Regions from separate parts of the Homo sapiens genome. Here all the other regions are linked to region 3. The links are contacts of gene promoters, found by promoter capture Hi-C in blood cells and fetal thymus (Javierre and others, 2016). All regions are on one chromosome and are shown on one strand. Each heading gives the region's core, a stretch centred on a gene start or on the middle of the fragment in contact. The rest is flanking DNA. Distances are from core to core; before and after follow the strand shown.

Region 1 (3,423 bases), core at 186-2,685, 410 kb before region 3:
GATCTTGTACTCTTTGCAGCAATGCCATTTCTTCAGTTTATCTTATGGATAGGCTTGTGTGGGTGTGACAAGGACATTTCACTATGGCATCACTTTAACAGATAAACTAACAGCAGCTTACCGTCAGTTAAAAGGAACAGAGGCAGACCAAGGCAGGGAAGTGAGCTCTGGGTGTGGCCTAACGGGATGCATTTTCTGTAAAAAAGTTAAAATCAATAATAAAACTGATGAAAAGTCTGGGTTCCTTTAATATCCCCATATGTGGGAAATTCCAAACGATGTCAGTGGTCGGATGCTTCCCCCATTGATGCTTCAGGCTCTCATTGACCTTGCCTCCTCTGCTCATGTACAACACAACAGGAGATGCATGAAATGAGCTTTGTCATGTGTTTGCTGTGGATGACTACACCCATGAAAGAAAACAGGCTAGAGCTTTATATACTAAACTGGAAAGTATTCCAAGTTATATTTTTATGAAAAATATATGTGTAAAAATACATATCATTGATATATTTTTATGTTAAATAAAATTGCGAGATAGTGTGAATGGTATGATTCTATTTGTGCCAAAGTAGGTTTATATATACATAAAGTTTACATGCATAAGCTTCTAAGAGTGTGCATAGGAAATGCCTGGAAGGATACACAAGATATTTACCTCTGGGGGTGGGCATAGTGAGCCAGGGGACAAGACAGTATACTTTTTGCCCATTGTTAATATTTTTGAGGTGTTTTTATTTTAAAACAGGCAGTTTAGAAATTCATTTGTTCCCAATCATTTTAGGGTAATATTGTAATATTATATGAACTTATATTCTATACTTAAATTTTTTTTCCAAGATAAATTGTTTCCTTGAATTTTGCCCAACACATAATGATTGTCATGGTCATTGGATAAGACAGTAAATATTTTTAGGTTATAGTTTAGTAAAATAAGCTGTGTTACTAGCTTTACTGTGTTTCTTTTCCATAAAAATAAATGTTCATTATAATCTTAAGAAGGGTAGAATTTTAATATGTAAAGTTTCTTTTTATTCTCCTTTATTTTTGTGTTTTTATTGTCTGGAAACAAAAAAATGAATTGCTTTTTATAACCAATTATAGTTTAAACTTTCTTGCCTTGGTAGTAGGTTCTATGGGAGGTTTCTGCTCTGGTAAGCTGTGATTCTCTATGGCTGCCTGCCTTTCTTTCCAGTTTTGGGGGCAGCAGTTTGCTCTGTGGCCTTGATTCTCTGCTGAATCTAAGAAGATTCTTGATTTTCAGCTTGTTCAGCTTCCTGCTTGTTAGGATGGAGTGGTGACTTTCAACCTCCTCATGTGCAGGAGTGGAAACCTCAAGCCTGGACCACTTCCTTTTATAGTTTATTTTCTCCCCTCTTTCCATGCACTCCTTTCTCTCAGTTCTTCAGTACCTCTGAACTGTTCTGTGTCTTCCTTCCCACCCCTCCCTCTGGTAGTTCAGGGGTCTGCCCTTTACCTTCTCTGCCCGCATCGCCCTTCCCTAATGGCCCTGTCTCCCTCTATGGCTCTAATATCTGTACAGTGAAGTCTCCTTGTTCTCCTTAGCTTTGGGTCCTGAGTGTCTGGTATCTCATGGGCACTTCACAGTCGGTTCCTCCAAAATGGAGTTTATTTTCTGTGAGCCCTCCATCCTCCTCCCATCATTGCACCTCACCCTCCTCTCTTCTCCCACAAACACACCCAGATTCCCCTCTTCCTTTTTTGTGTTCATTGTGCCGGCTGATTCAGTGACTCTACCATCCACTTATTTGTCCAAGCCAGAAACCTGAGTGTTATTCTAGATTGTTCTGTCTTTCTCATCACCCTCCAAATCCAATCACTCACACAGTCCTGAGACGTTTGCATCTCAAAGGAAAAACACATTCATCCCTGACCCCACTGCCCTCTGTCAGAGTTCACCCTCTGAAGCCTGGAAGTCTGTCCTCCTGTCAGCCCTCCCTGCCTCCTGCATTCCACCCTCCATGCTGTCCACTGTGCAGCATTCCAGAAAACATCAGATGCTCCCCTATGGCCTACAGAAGCTGTCTCCCAAATGGCATCTGTAAGCAATTCATTGAGAGTGTAGTCATAAAATATTAGAAATTCTATGTATATTTATTTTTCTTTATCTCAACTTATAAAAATGTCTGCTTTTCTTTTTGCAATGTGATAAAACAATACCACATGCATATACTTTATGAGTGTACTAATAGAAGGTTGAATACTCAAAAGTTATTTTAGTGTGCATTGGTGAGGAAGCTTAGAGGCCATGGCCTATGGTGCATGGTCCCAGTTCCTCAGCTTAGTGGACCAGGCCCTCTGTTTTCTGGCCCCTGCCTGCCTTTTCCAGACTCCGCTCCCATTCTTTCTACATTTATCCCTGCATTGGTAACTGCTTCATCTTTAACCACATCCTTTCTAGAAGTTACCAGGCTATTTTATGCCATCATACTTTAGTTATACTGTCGCTTCTGCCTAGAATTCCTATTATGATTCCCATTTTCCATTCCTCATCCCAGCCCTGCCTTGCAAAGTCTGATTCCTTTTTTTTTTTTTTTTTTTTTTGAGATGGAGAGTCTTGCTCTGTCGCCCAGGCTGGAGTGCAGTGGCACAATCGTGGCTCACTCAACCTCCGCCTCCTGGGTTCAAGCAATTCTCTGCCTCAGCCTCCCGAGTAGCTGGGATTACAGGCACCCGCCACCACACCCGGCTAATTTTTGTACTTTTAGTAGAGACGGGGTTTCACCATGTTGGCCAAACTGGTCTTGAACTCCTGACCTCATGATCCACCCACCTCAGCCTCCCAAAGTGCTGGGATTATAGGCGTGAGCCACAGCACCCGGCCGATTCTTTCTTGATTCCTATCCGAGAAGCTTTCCCTGGTGCTACTCTGCACTCCACAAGTAAAGTCATCATGCTCTCCTTTGCCCTCCCATTTTGCAGTGCTCATTCGTTCATGCTTCAGCACTGTCTGTTGAGCGCCAGCCGTGTGCCCACTGCACCAGGCCCAGGACACAGTGTAGTTGGTTCACTTCTCTGCCTCTTTCAGTGCCAGCTGCTTAGACACAAAGGCTCTTCATTCTTCTCTTCCAGCACCCCGCAGGTTTGCTGACAGCATGCTTGAGTGAACGAACCAGGGAGCGAGGGCACTGGATCATGAACGTCTCTTTCAACACTAGGATTCTGTTTAAAGAAAAATCAGTCAGAAATTAAGGTGTAAATTTGTGGATGTCCATAGCCAAAGTCTCATTTGTTGTGCAATTTATGTTCACTTACTAAACTCATTCATTTATTAGTAACTATGTTTTTATATTTTTATATATAAATTTGTTGTGGGGACTCATTTTATGGAACGAAGTGTTGTGCAGTTCTAGAATCACAAATAAAGCCAATTGAAAAAAAAATGTGTATTTTGGTAATCCT
Region 2 (3,093 bases), core at 496-2,995, 430 kb before region 3:
TCGGGGCATTTGTCAGATGCATCTGTGGCTGTGGAAGGCGCCCTGAGGGAAATGAAACTGTCATGCACAGTGATGGAGTGAGTCCTCAGCAGAGCAGAAGGAAGACAGAGAGGCTGACTGAGGCTAAGGCGGGCATTCATGTGGCTAGTGAATGAGGAGGTAACTGCGGTGAGGCACTTAGTGGGGGGTTTCAAACTGAATCTTAATATGACAATTCTCTGGGGACACTAATTGAGGCAGGCCAGATGTGGTGTCTCATGCCTGTAATCTCAGCACTTTGGGAGGCTGAGGCAGGCAGATCACTTGAGGTCAGGAGTTCAAGAACAGCCTGGCCAACATGGTGAAACCCCATCTCTACTAAAAATACAAAAATTAATTGGGCGCGGTGGCGGGTGCCTGTAATCCCAGCTACTCAGGAAGCTGAGACAGGAGAATCGATTGAACCCTGGGAGGCAGAGGTTGCAGTGAGCCGAGATGGGACTTCTGCACTCCAGCCTGGGCAACAGAGCAAGACTCCATCTCAAAAAAAAAAAAAAATTAATTGAGGCAGATTCTTCACATGTAAAATGACTGGAAGAATAAGATGGGTGAATGTTAAAACACGGTTATTAAGAAATAAAACGTATACAAGCATACATAGGGATTCATTTGAAAACAGTTTGGTATGGTACCTGGAATATAATCCTAAAATGAGATTTCATTGTTGACTAAATAATGTCTTTGTTCCCCAAAAATTCCTATTGTTGTTTCATATGGCACATGAGCCAGTGTTTTCAGAATTCGTATACACAGGACTTGTTAAGTATTGACAGTGGCAAGAAACCTCATGGTTTGGGTTTAGGTTAACCACCATTATTTATTTCCTTAGTCTTTTATTTCACTCAAAAGGAGATAACTTAAATTGAAGAGAGGGCAGGAAACTTAAAACTGTATAAAAGATTATCTGGAAAATACAAACATAGTGTTTGTGGTGAACTAAAATACATATGAAAGCTCTGTACACATAAGTCAGTGATAAAAAGTGCTACATTCAGAAATACTTGCAAAACATTTCCTCTTGTGGGAAACGGTGATAATTCTACTGCACTGCCTTTATGGGTTTGTAAATTATGACAACTATGGCAGAAGTATTTTAATAAAAATACTTTAAAAATTCTATCAGAAGTTAATATTTATTTTTCTTATTTTGCTATTTTTTTCATATTTATCCTGAATAGATTATTCTACAGTTGTATATAACAATAAAATTGTTATCAAGAAAAACATTGATCTTAAAAAATTTATTTCAGGGAATTATACTTCTACACTGCACCTATTTTTATGAACAAAGCAGTCTAGATATCTCTTTAAAACTCTGAAAACGTCAGACATGTCTCAGAACTTTTTTTTCTTACACATATGAATAGATAGAAACACCTTGAAATTTTGTACTTTTTTCTTTAGCCTCCCATTAACTCTTTTTTTTTTTTTTTTTGAGATGGAGTCTCACTTTCTTGCCCAGGCTGGAGTACAGTGGCACAGTCTGGGCTCACTATAGTCTCTACCTCCTGGGTTCAAGCTATTCTCCTGCCTTAGCCTCCCAAGTAGCTGGGACTATAGGCATGCACCACCACGCCTGGCTAATTTTTGTATTTTTGGTAGAGACGGGGTTTCAGCCTGTTGGCCTTGCTGGTCTTGAACTCCTGACCTCAGGTGATCCACCCCCTGCCCTCAGCCTCCCAAAGTACTAGGATTACAGGCATGAGCCACCTGGTCCCATTAACTCTTTTAATTTTGGGATAGAATCTGACGCTGTGGATTATTAGTATGCCAATTTAATTTTTTTCTGATTAAAAGATCGTCATCACCTAGAAGCATTTACTATATGTTTGGTATATGTTGGTAGCTCTACTTCCCTTTGAAAATCATCACTTTAAGGGAATTGTGGGATATAGATTATGATCATCACATAATAATTTTAACAGATATGTTCATTTTATTTCACATAATTGAAGATATTTTCTTTTGGATTTCGTTTTAGAGACTGTCATGCAGTTCCTTGAAAAACTATCTGACAAACTTTCTGAAAGGTTAGTTTTTATTCTACTATTTAGTTTTTTGGTTATATGTTATTTAGTCTTTTTAAAGAAGACTTGATTTATAAAAAATTAGGAAGTGACCTAGAATATAAGTTTTGGCATATTGGACCAGACCTGTCTCACTATGAGACATACTTTAAAAGGCCATAGTTGTCTTCCTTATGTGCCATTCTTGAAAACATAAGCTGTCCCCTTTCATTAAACAATTGTTTTTAGAAATTCATCTTTCATTTGCACTTTAAAAATCTTTACCAAAATGTTTTTGAAACTATTTATTTTAACTTGTACCATGAATTTTATGACAAGTTCATAAAGTAGTATTTCTCTTCTTTTGGCCTAAATACAGGAGGCTCATGGATGTGGTGTCTTTTTAATTTTGTGTAGTATTTTAAGGATGTTCTATCTCAACATTTGTAATTTCAAGCTGAAGTGTTCTACTGCCTTTGGTGTGTCCGTTTGTTATAACAAGTTGAGTGTCCCTTATCTGAAATGCTTGGGACCACACATGTTTTGGATTTCATTTTTTGGGGGGAATTTGGAATATTTGCATATACATAATGAGATATCTTGGGGATGGGACCCAAGTCTAAACACGAAATTCATTTATGTTTCATATACACCTTATACACATAGCCTGAAGATAATTTTATACAGTGTTTTTAATAATTTTGTGCCTGAAACAAAGTTTTGGCTGCAACCTATCACATGACATCACATGTGGAATTTTCCACTTGTACCATCATGTCAGTGCTGAGAAAGTTTCAGATTTTCAGATTAGGGAGGCTCAACCTGTATTCCTGCCTCCCCTGCCCCTCCCCTGCTCAGTGCCTTCGATCATACACTTGCCCTTCACTGGCCCTCTTCTAGGCCTTAGTTGAGAGGCAGCACACCTTTAGGTACTAAGGATTCTAGGAAGAAGCAGTCACCGTTTGTAAAAAAGGATGATGTTTTCTCTTTTTCTCTTGTAATGCTGTCTAAAATTTTGTTTGCCTGTTGTGGCTACACCAACACATTG
Region 3 (3,453 bases), core at 872-3,371:
ATTTGTTGTAACAGTAACAAGGTGTATCACAGGCAGTGCTCACAAGGGTATTTAAGCTTTGACTTCTACATTGCAACACTATTTTTTGTCTTTTTTTTTTTTAATTTTAGAGATGAGGTCTACTCTGTCGCCCAGGCTGGTGTGCAGTGGTGCAATCATAGCTCACTGTAACCTTAAACTCCTGGGCTCAAGTGATCCTCCCACCTCAGTCTCCCGAGTAGCTAGGACTGCAGGCATGCACGACCAATGCCTGCTTAATTTTTTAATTTTTGTAGAGATGAAGTCTTGCTATGTTTGTTTTTGTTTTTTTGGGACAGGGTCTCACTCTGTTGTTTAGGTTGGAGTGCAGTGGCACAATCTCAGCTCACTGCAACCTCTGCCTCCCAGGTGCAAGCAATTCTCCTGCCTTAGCCTCCAAGTATCTGAGATTACAGGTGCACACCACTGCACCCAGCTAATTTTTGTATTTTTAGTAGAGATGGGGTTTCATCATGTTGGCCAGGCTGGTCTTGAACTCCTGGCCTCAAGTGATCCACCCACCTCGGCCTCCCAAAGTGTTGGGATTACAGGCGTGAGCCATTGCGCCCAACCTGAGGTCTTGCTATGTTGCTCAGGCTGGTCTCAAACTCCCGGCCTCAAGCAATCCTCCTTCCTCAGCCTCCTGAGTTGCTAGGACTACAGGCATGTACCACCACACCTGGCTAAGCAACACTATTTCTGAATAATCAATATTTCACTGGATACTTTTATGTAGTGTGAGTAGGTAGGCAAAATCGTCTAACCTCTCTGAAAACTATACATATATATTATATATATAGTTTATATATATGTAGTTATTTATAACTTTTCCCTTTGGGGGTGTAATGGTTTACAGCTGTGAGTAGAAGAGCCTGCTGGGGGAGCAACATACTGGGTATTCACCGTTTAGTCTACGGTGTCTAGCTGATGCCAGGAACAAGCAAGGGCTCAATATTTGTGTGCTGAATTAAACTGATTACAACTGAACCATGTAAGAATGGTGGTAGCCTCAGAGAGGCAGCCTCACTCCACAGGCGCATGCCACCGAGGGCCTGTTGGTCCACACGGTGCTACAGTGAGAGCTCAATGAAAAGGCCCTGCAAGACACCATTTCTCCCCAATAGAAATGTGCTTTGTTTGTGATTATTCAGTCCTTTTGTTAGAACAGGTCTCCCACCTATCTCCCAGGAAATAATATGTACACAAATCTGTGAGTCTAGGATGTGAAGGAGACACCATTAGATGTGGCATCTTCTGGGTCAGACCAGTGCAGGGCCAGGTACAAGAAGCAGGGGCTCTCCTTCCCCAGTTGCTGCTGACATTTGGGGCTTGCTTTGGTCTTCTCCCAGGAGAGATCATTTGAGCCTTTTCAGGTCTGGAGTTGTTTGAACTGACTTAAGAGGAATTTTCCGCAGGAACGAAGCAATAAGAAGCTTCCGAGATCCAGTATTTCCAGATAAGCCAAAATTCTAGATTTATATGGATAAAGCAGGCAGTTCTACTAGGAGACTATCATGAGGAATATGATGTACCCAGGCCAGTGGCAGGATAGCTGTGCGCCGAAATGAAATAAATGCTGGTGGTATTTCACATACCCCATCAGAGGAAGCAAGAAAATAGAGTTACAATATTTTGTATTATTAAATTGAGACTAGCAATTTCAACTTAGAACAGGATCAATTGTATAGCATTTCACAGTTTACCACACATTTTGAGTGAATGCTTTTTTTTTTAACCATTGGAACCTCATAAACAACTCCAAATAACATACAAAAAGCAGATTGTGAGCTACAACATTACCAGGTCACAGGTCTTCATTTCCCATGAGGTACTCGAGACCCATGAGTGACTTGTCTAAGGTCACACAACTGGTGTTTAATAGAGCCAGTCTTCTGTTAGCCATACCTACTGCTAAAAATTAGCCTTTGCAAGTGAAGAGAACAAAAACGTGTGGTTGGTTGTCACCCCCACAATGAACGACAATGCTGCACTTGCAGCATTATTGACACCTAAGGTTGATGACAGTCCTGTCTCTTTAAGAAGAAAAAAAAAGGCTGCTGGGTAGGGGGAGCGACTGACTGCGGCAGGAGCCGCCTGGACCCAGTGCGGCTGCGGGACAGTCACGCTGGGAACTGCTGATGGCACTGGAGGAAAACAAAGGCCGAGAGACCCTGATGCCCACAGCCCCCAGTAAGTCCAAGGTTCCAGCTGGGTGGCCAGCGAGGGCAGCTGCAGGAGCGGCCTGGGGACGGGCAGGCTCCATGGTGTTGTTGGCCATCCGTCCCCTGAGCCTTGGGAAACCAGGGCTCGGCCACTGCAGCTGCTTGGGGGAGGTAAGGGGCCACTTTCCTTTAACATACCCGCCTTCGGAGAGGACAGAGACGAGAGGGCCTTCAGCGTGCTGTACAGCTGTGAGTAATGAGCTCTTCTGAAAATGTACAGTTTGGGTTGGCTGCTTGTGAATTTGTGGGTGAGGAGCGGCTGCAGGGTGACTAGAGAGATCTGCCGCGGTCAAGATGCTGGACTAGCCGCTTTGTCATTTTAATTTCCACCCGGGTTGCCAGGCACCGCCACAATGGAGCTGTTGCAGTAACACAGCGTGGGGTCCAGAGTCTTATTGAACAATAAGATGGGATTCTCAAAGTAGCTTACGGTTAATTTGCAGAATTGCTCTCACTTTAAACAGCATGCCTTCAAACAATGCCATATGTTATGGTTATCTTATATAATATTTGAAAATCCTGCTTTTAGTTAAAAAATATTTCACATATTTAATTTTATTCTAATAAGCGATCATTAGATTCTTTGAAAGAGTATTCCAGCTTTAGCAACAAAACCTCTCTCTCGCTGTCTTTTTTTCTTCCTTAAAACGAGGTCAATACCTCAGAGAAGAGGACTGGATTTGTTTCTATTAAAACATATCAATTGTTTTGGCTTTAATCTTAATTCTCTCTGCCCCTGAAGATGGATAAAGCCCATTCCGCTTAAGTAAAAGGCAGAAGCCAGGTTGAATCCACGTGCTTCCCAAGCGCAAGCTGCTCTGAAGTTATTTTGAAGGGGAACTCTTCATTTCTCCATCAGTGCAGATAAAAGTAATTGATTCACAGGTCATGGATGAAAATAATAATAATAATAATAAATAATTGACAATCCCATTTTATTTGTCACATGACAAGTAGATTTGCCATTCTGTTTTTCTTAAGCTGCCCATTGATAACCAGACTCATTCTACGTTAATGCAGGGTCATGATGTCCCAGTAGTTTTACTTATGACCATCCAGACTGCCTTCCCTAATCTTGCCCTGAAGCCTCACTTTGGGCTGTGACAACGATCCCCAGTTTCCTTTCCTCTATCCTCCTTAGCCGTCCCTTTCATCCTTTCTTCTCCTTCCTGGGCTGTTTGGGCAATTTTTTCTTTCTTTTCTCCTTGGATCT
Region 4 (3,093 bases), core at 275-2,774, 480 kb before region 3:
TATTAACTTCCTCAGTTAGATGTATTCCTAAGTATTTTTTAATGGACATCGTAAATGGGATTGCATTCTTGATTTGGCTCTGAGCTTGAATGTTACTGGTATATATAAATGCTACTAATTTTTGTACATTGATTTTGTATCCTGAAACTTTGCTGAAATTAAAATCATTGAACAGTTCCAGGAGCCTTTTAGCAGAGTCTTCAGGGTTCTCTAGGTATAGAATCATATCATCAGTGAAGAGAGTTTGACTTCCTCTTTTCCTATATGGATGCCTTTAATTTCTTTCTCTTGCCTGATTGCTCTGGCTAGGACTTACAGTACTATGTTGAATAGGAGTGGTGAGAGATGATATCCTTGTCTTACTCTCAAGGGGAATGCTTCCAGCTTTTGCCCATTCAGCATGATGATGGCTATAAGTCTGTCATAGATAGCTCTTAATATTTTGAGGTTTGTTCCTTTGATGTCTAGATTGTTGAGGGGTTTTATCATGAAAGCATGTTGGATTGTATCAAAAGCTTTGTCCACATCTATGGAGATAAACTGTGGTTTCTTGTTTTAATCCTGTTTATGTGGTGAATCACATTTATTGATTAACATTTGTTGAACTAACCTTGCACCTCAGGAATACAGCCTACTTGATCATGGAGAATTAACTTCTTGATTTGCTGCTGCATTCATTAGTATTTGTTTGAGGATTTTTGCATCTATGTTCATCAGGGATATTGACCTGTAGTTTTCTTGTATAGCTATGTCTTTGCAAGATTTTGGTAACAGGATGACACTGTCTTTGTAGATTGATTTAGGGAGGAGTCCCACCTCCTTGATTTTTTTGGGATTAGGTTCAGCAGAATTGGCACCAGCTCTTCTTTGTACATCTGGTAGAATTCAGCTGTGAATCCGTCAAGTTTGTGGCTTTTTTTGGTTGGAGTTTTTAAGTTTTTTAAATTACTGATTCAATTATGGAACTCAATATTGGTTTGTTCAGGGTTTCAATTTCTTCCTGATTCAGTCTTAGGAGGTTGTGGGTTCCCAGGAATGTACCCATTTCCTGTAGATTTTTTAGTTTGTTTGCATAGAGGTATTCATAATCGTTGCTGAGAATCTTTTGCATTTCTGTGGGATTGGTTGTAATGTCATCTTTGTCATTTCTGATTGTGCTGGTTTGGATCTTCTTTTTCTGTTTGTTCAGCTAGCTGGTTGTCTGTTGATTTTCTATCCTTTCAAAGACCCAACTTGTGGTTTCATTAATTATTTGTATGGATTTTTGGGTTTCCATTTGCATTCAGTTTTGCTCTTCTTTCTTTTCTTCTGGTAGCTTTGGGGCTAGTTTGTTCTTATTTTCCTAGTTCCTCTAGGTGTGATGTTCAATTGTTAATTTGAGATCTTTCTAACTTTTTGATGTAGGTATTTAGGGCTACAAACTTTCCTCTTAATACTGCTTTTGCTGTATCCCACTGATTTTGGTATATTGTGTCTTTGTTATAATTTATTGCATGGATTTTTTTTTTATTTCTGCCTTAATTTTGTTGTTTACCCAAAAGTCATTCAGGAGCAGGTTTTTTCATTTTCATATAATCATGTAGTTTTGAGAGATTATCTTGGTACTAATTTCTATTTTTATTCCATTGTGATCAGAAAGTATCATTGGCATGATTTGTATTTTTCTAATTTATTGAGACTTCCTTTATGACCAAAAATGTGGTTGATCTTGGAGAATGTTCTGTGTGCAGAAAAGAAACATGTATATTCTGGGGTTGATGAACTGAGTACTCTGTAGATGTCTATTAGGTTCGGTTGATCAGGTGTACAATTTTGGTCTAGAATTTGTTAGTTTCCTGCCTTGATGATCTAATGCTGTCAGTGGGGTGTTGAAGTCCTCCACTATTGATTATGTGGCTGTACAAGTCTTTTTGTAGGTCTAGAACTTCTCATTTTATGAATGTGGGTGCTCCAGTGTTGGGTGCATATACATTTAGAACAGTTAAGTCTCCTTGTTGAATTAAACCTTTTATCATTATGTAATGCCTTTTTTTGTCCTTTCTTACTGCTGTTGTTTTAAAGTCTGTTTTATCTAAGAATCATCACCCCTGCTCTTTTTGGTGTTCTGTTTGCATAATAGCTCTTTCACCAACCCTTTACTTCAAGCCTATGGGTGTCATTATGTGTGAGACGGATCTCTTGAAGACAACAAAGAGATGGGTCTCGATTTTTTTTTATCCAATTTGCTACACTGTGCCTTTTAAATGGAGGCATTTGGACTGTTGATATTAAAGGTTAATATTGATATGTGAAGTTTTGGTCCTATAGTAAAGTTGATAGCTGGTTGCTATGTAGTTTTTATTGCATGGTTACTTTATAGGGTCTGTGAGCTACGTAAATTAACTATGCTTTTGTGGTAGCAGGTATCATTCTTTCATTTCCATGTTTAGAAGTCCTTTAGGGATCTCTTGTAAGTCTTGTCTAATGGTAACAAATTCCCTTAACACTTGCTTGTCTGGAAAAGATTTTATTTCTCTTTCAGTTATGAAGCTTAGTTTGGTAGGATATTTAATTCTTGGTTGGAATTTCTTTTATTTATGAATGCTGAAAATAGGCCCCCATCCCTCGTGGCTTGCAACGTTTCAGCTGAGAAGTCCACTATTAGCCTGACAGGTTTACCTTCTCAGCCTTTAAAATGTTTTTCTTTAGCATTGACCATGGACAGTCCAATGACTATATGCCTTGATGATATTTGTTTTGCATAGTATCTCACAGGTGTTCTCTGGATTTCTTTATTTGGATGACCACCTCTATCAAAATTAGGAATGTTTTCTTGAATTATTTCCTCAAATATGTGTCCCAAGTTGTTTACTTTTCTCCTTCTCCCTCAGGAACACTAATAATTCATAGGTGTGGTTATGTTACATAATCCCAAATTTCTCAAGAACCCTATTTACTTTTAATATTCTTTTTTCTCTATTTTTTTATCTGACTAGGTTAGTTCAAAAGACTGGTCTTCAAGCTCTGAAATTCTTTCTTCTGCTTGGTCCAGTCTATTGATAAAGATTTCAGTTATATTTTGAAATTCTTTACATGAGTTTTTCAATTCCAGAA

What was found. The method cuts DNA at HindIII sites, captures the fragments that hold promoters and counts their contacts. A CHiCAGO score of 5 or more calls a contact.
Region 1: a fragment that was not itself captured here is called in contact with the fragment with the promoter of SACS in region 3 in 1 of 17 cell types (M1 macrophages); the score reaches 5.6 in M1 macrophages.
Region 2: a contact is called between a fragment that was not itself captured here and the fragment with the promoter of SACS in region 3, in 8 of 17 cell types (M2 macrophages, non-activated CD4 T cells, M0 macrophages and 5 more). The highest score is 9.1, in M2 macrophages.
Region 4: a fragment that was not itself captured here is called in contact with the fragment with the promoter of SACS in region 3 in 2 of 17 cell types (fetal thymus and erythroblasts); the score reaches 6.0 in fetal thymus.

Annotation. Positions count from the first base shown.
Region 1 is chr13:23,842,240-23,845,662 of GRCh38, reverse strand. The region is part of intron 10 of MIPEP (mitochondrial intermediate peptidase); the gene reads left to right. Among named protein-coding and RNA genes, the nearest start is that of PCOTH, 45 kb to the left of the region's middle. The HindIII fragment of the contact is 1,652 bases long and covers 610-2,261 here.
Region 2 is chr13:23,863,117-23,866,209 of GRCh38, reverse strand. MIPEP (mitochondrial intermediate peptidase) reads left to right here. Exons shown (of 19, transcript NM_005932.4): 8 at 2,021-2,069. Among named protein-coding and RNA genes, the nearest start is that of PCOTH, 24 kb to the left of the region's middle. RefSeq lists an enhancer at 1-89. The HindIII fragment of the contact is 3,713 bases long and covers 1-3,093 here.
Region 3 is chr13:23,432,370-23,435,822 of GRCh38, reverse strand. It overlaps SACS (sacsin molecular chaperone), which reads left to right and starts at 2,121. Exons shown (of 10, transcript NM_014363.6): 1 at 2,121-2,208. RefSeq lists an enhancer at 2,302-2,869. The HindIII fragment of the contact is 4,074 bases long and covers 1,454-3,453 here.
Region 4 is chr13:23,916,347-23,919,439 of GRCh38, reverse strand. It overlaps the pseudogene ANKRD20A19P. Among named protein-coding and RNA genes, the nearest start is that of C1QTNF9B, 20 kb to the right of the region's middle. The HindIII fragment of the contact is 2,014 bases long and covers 518-2,531 here.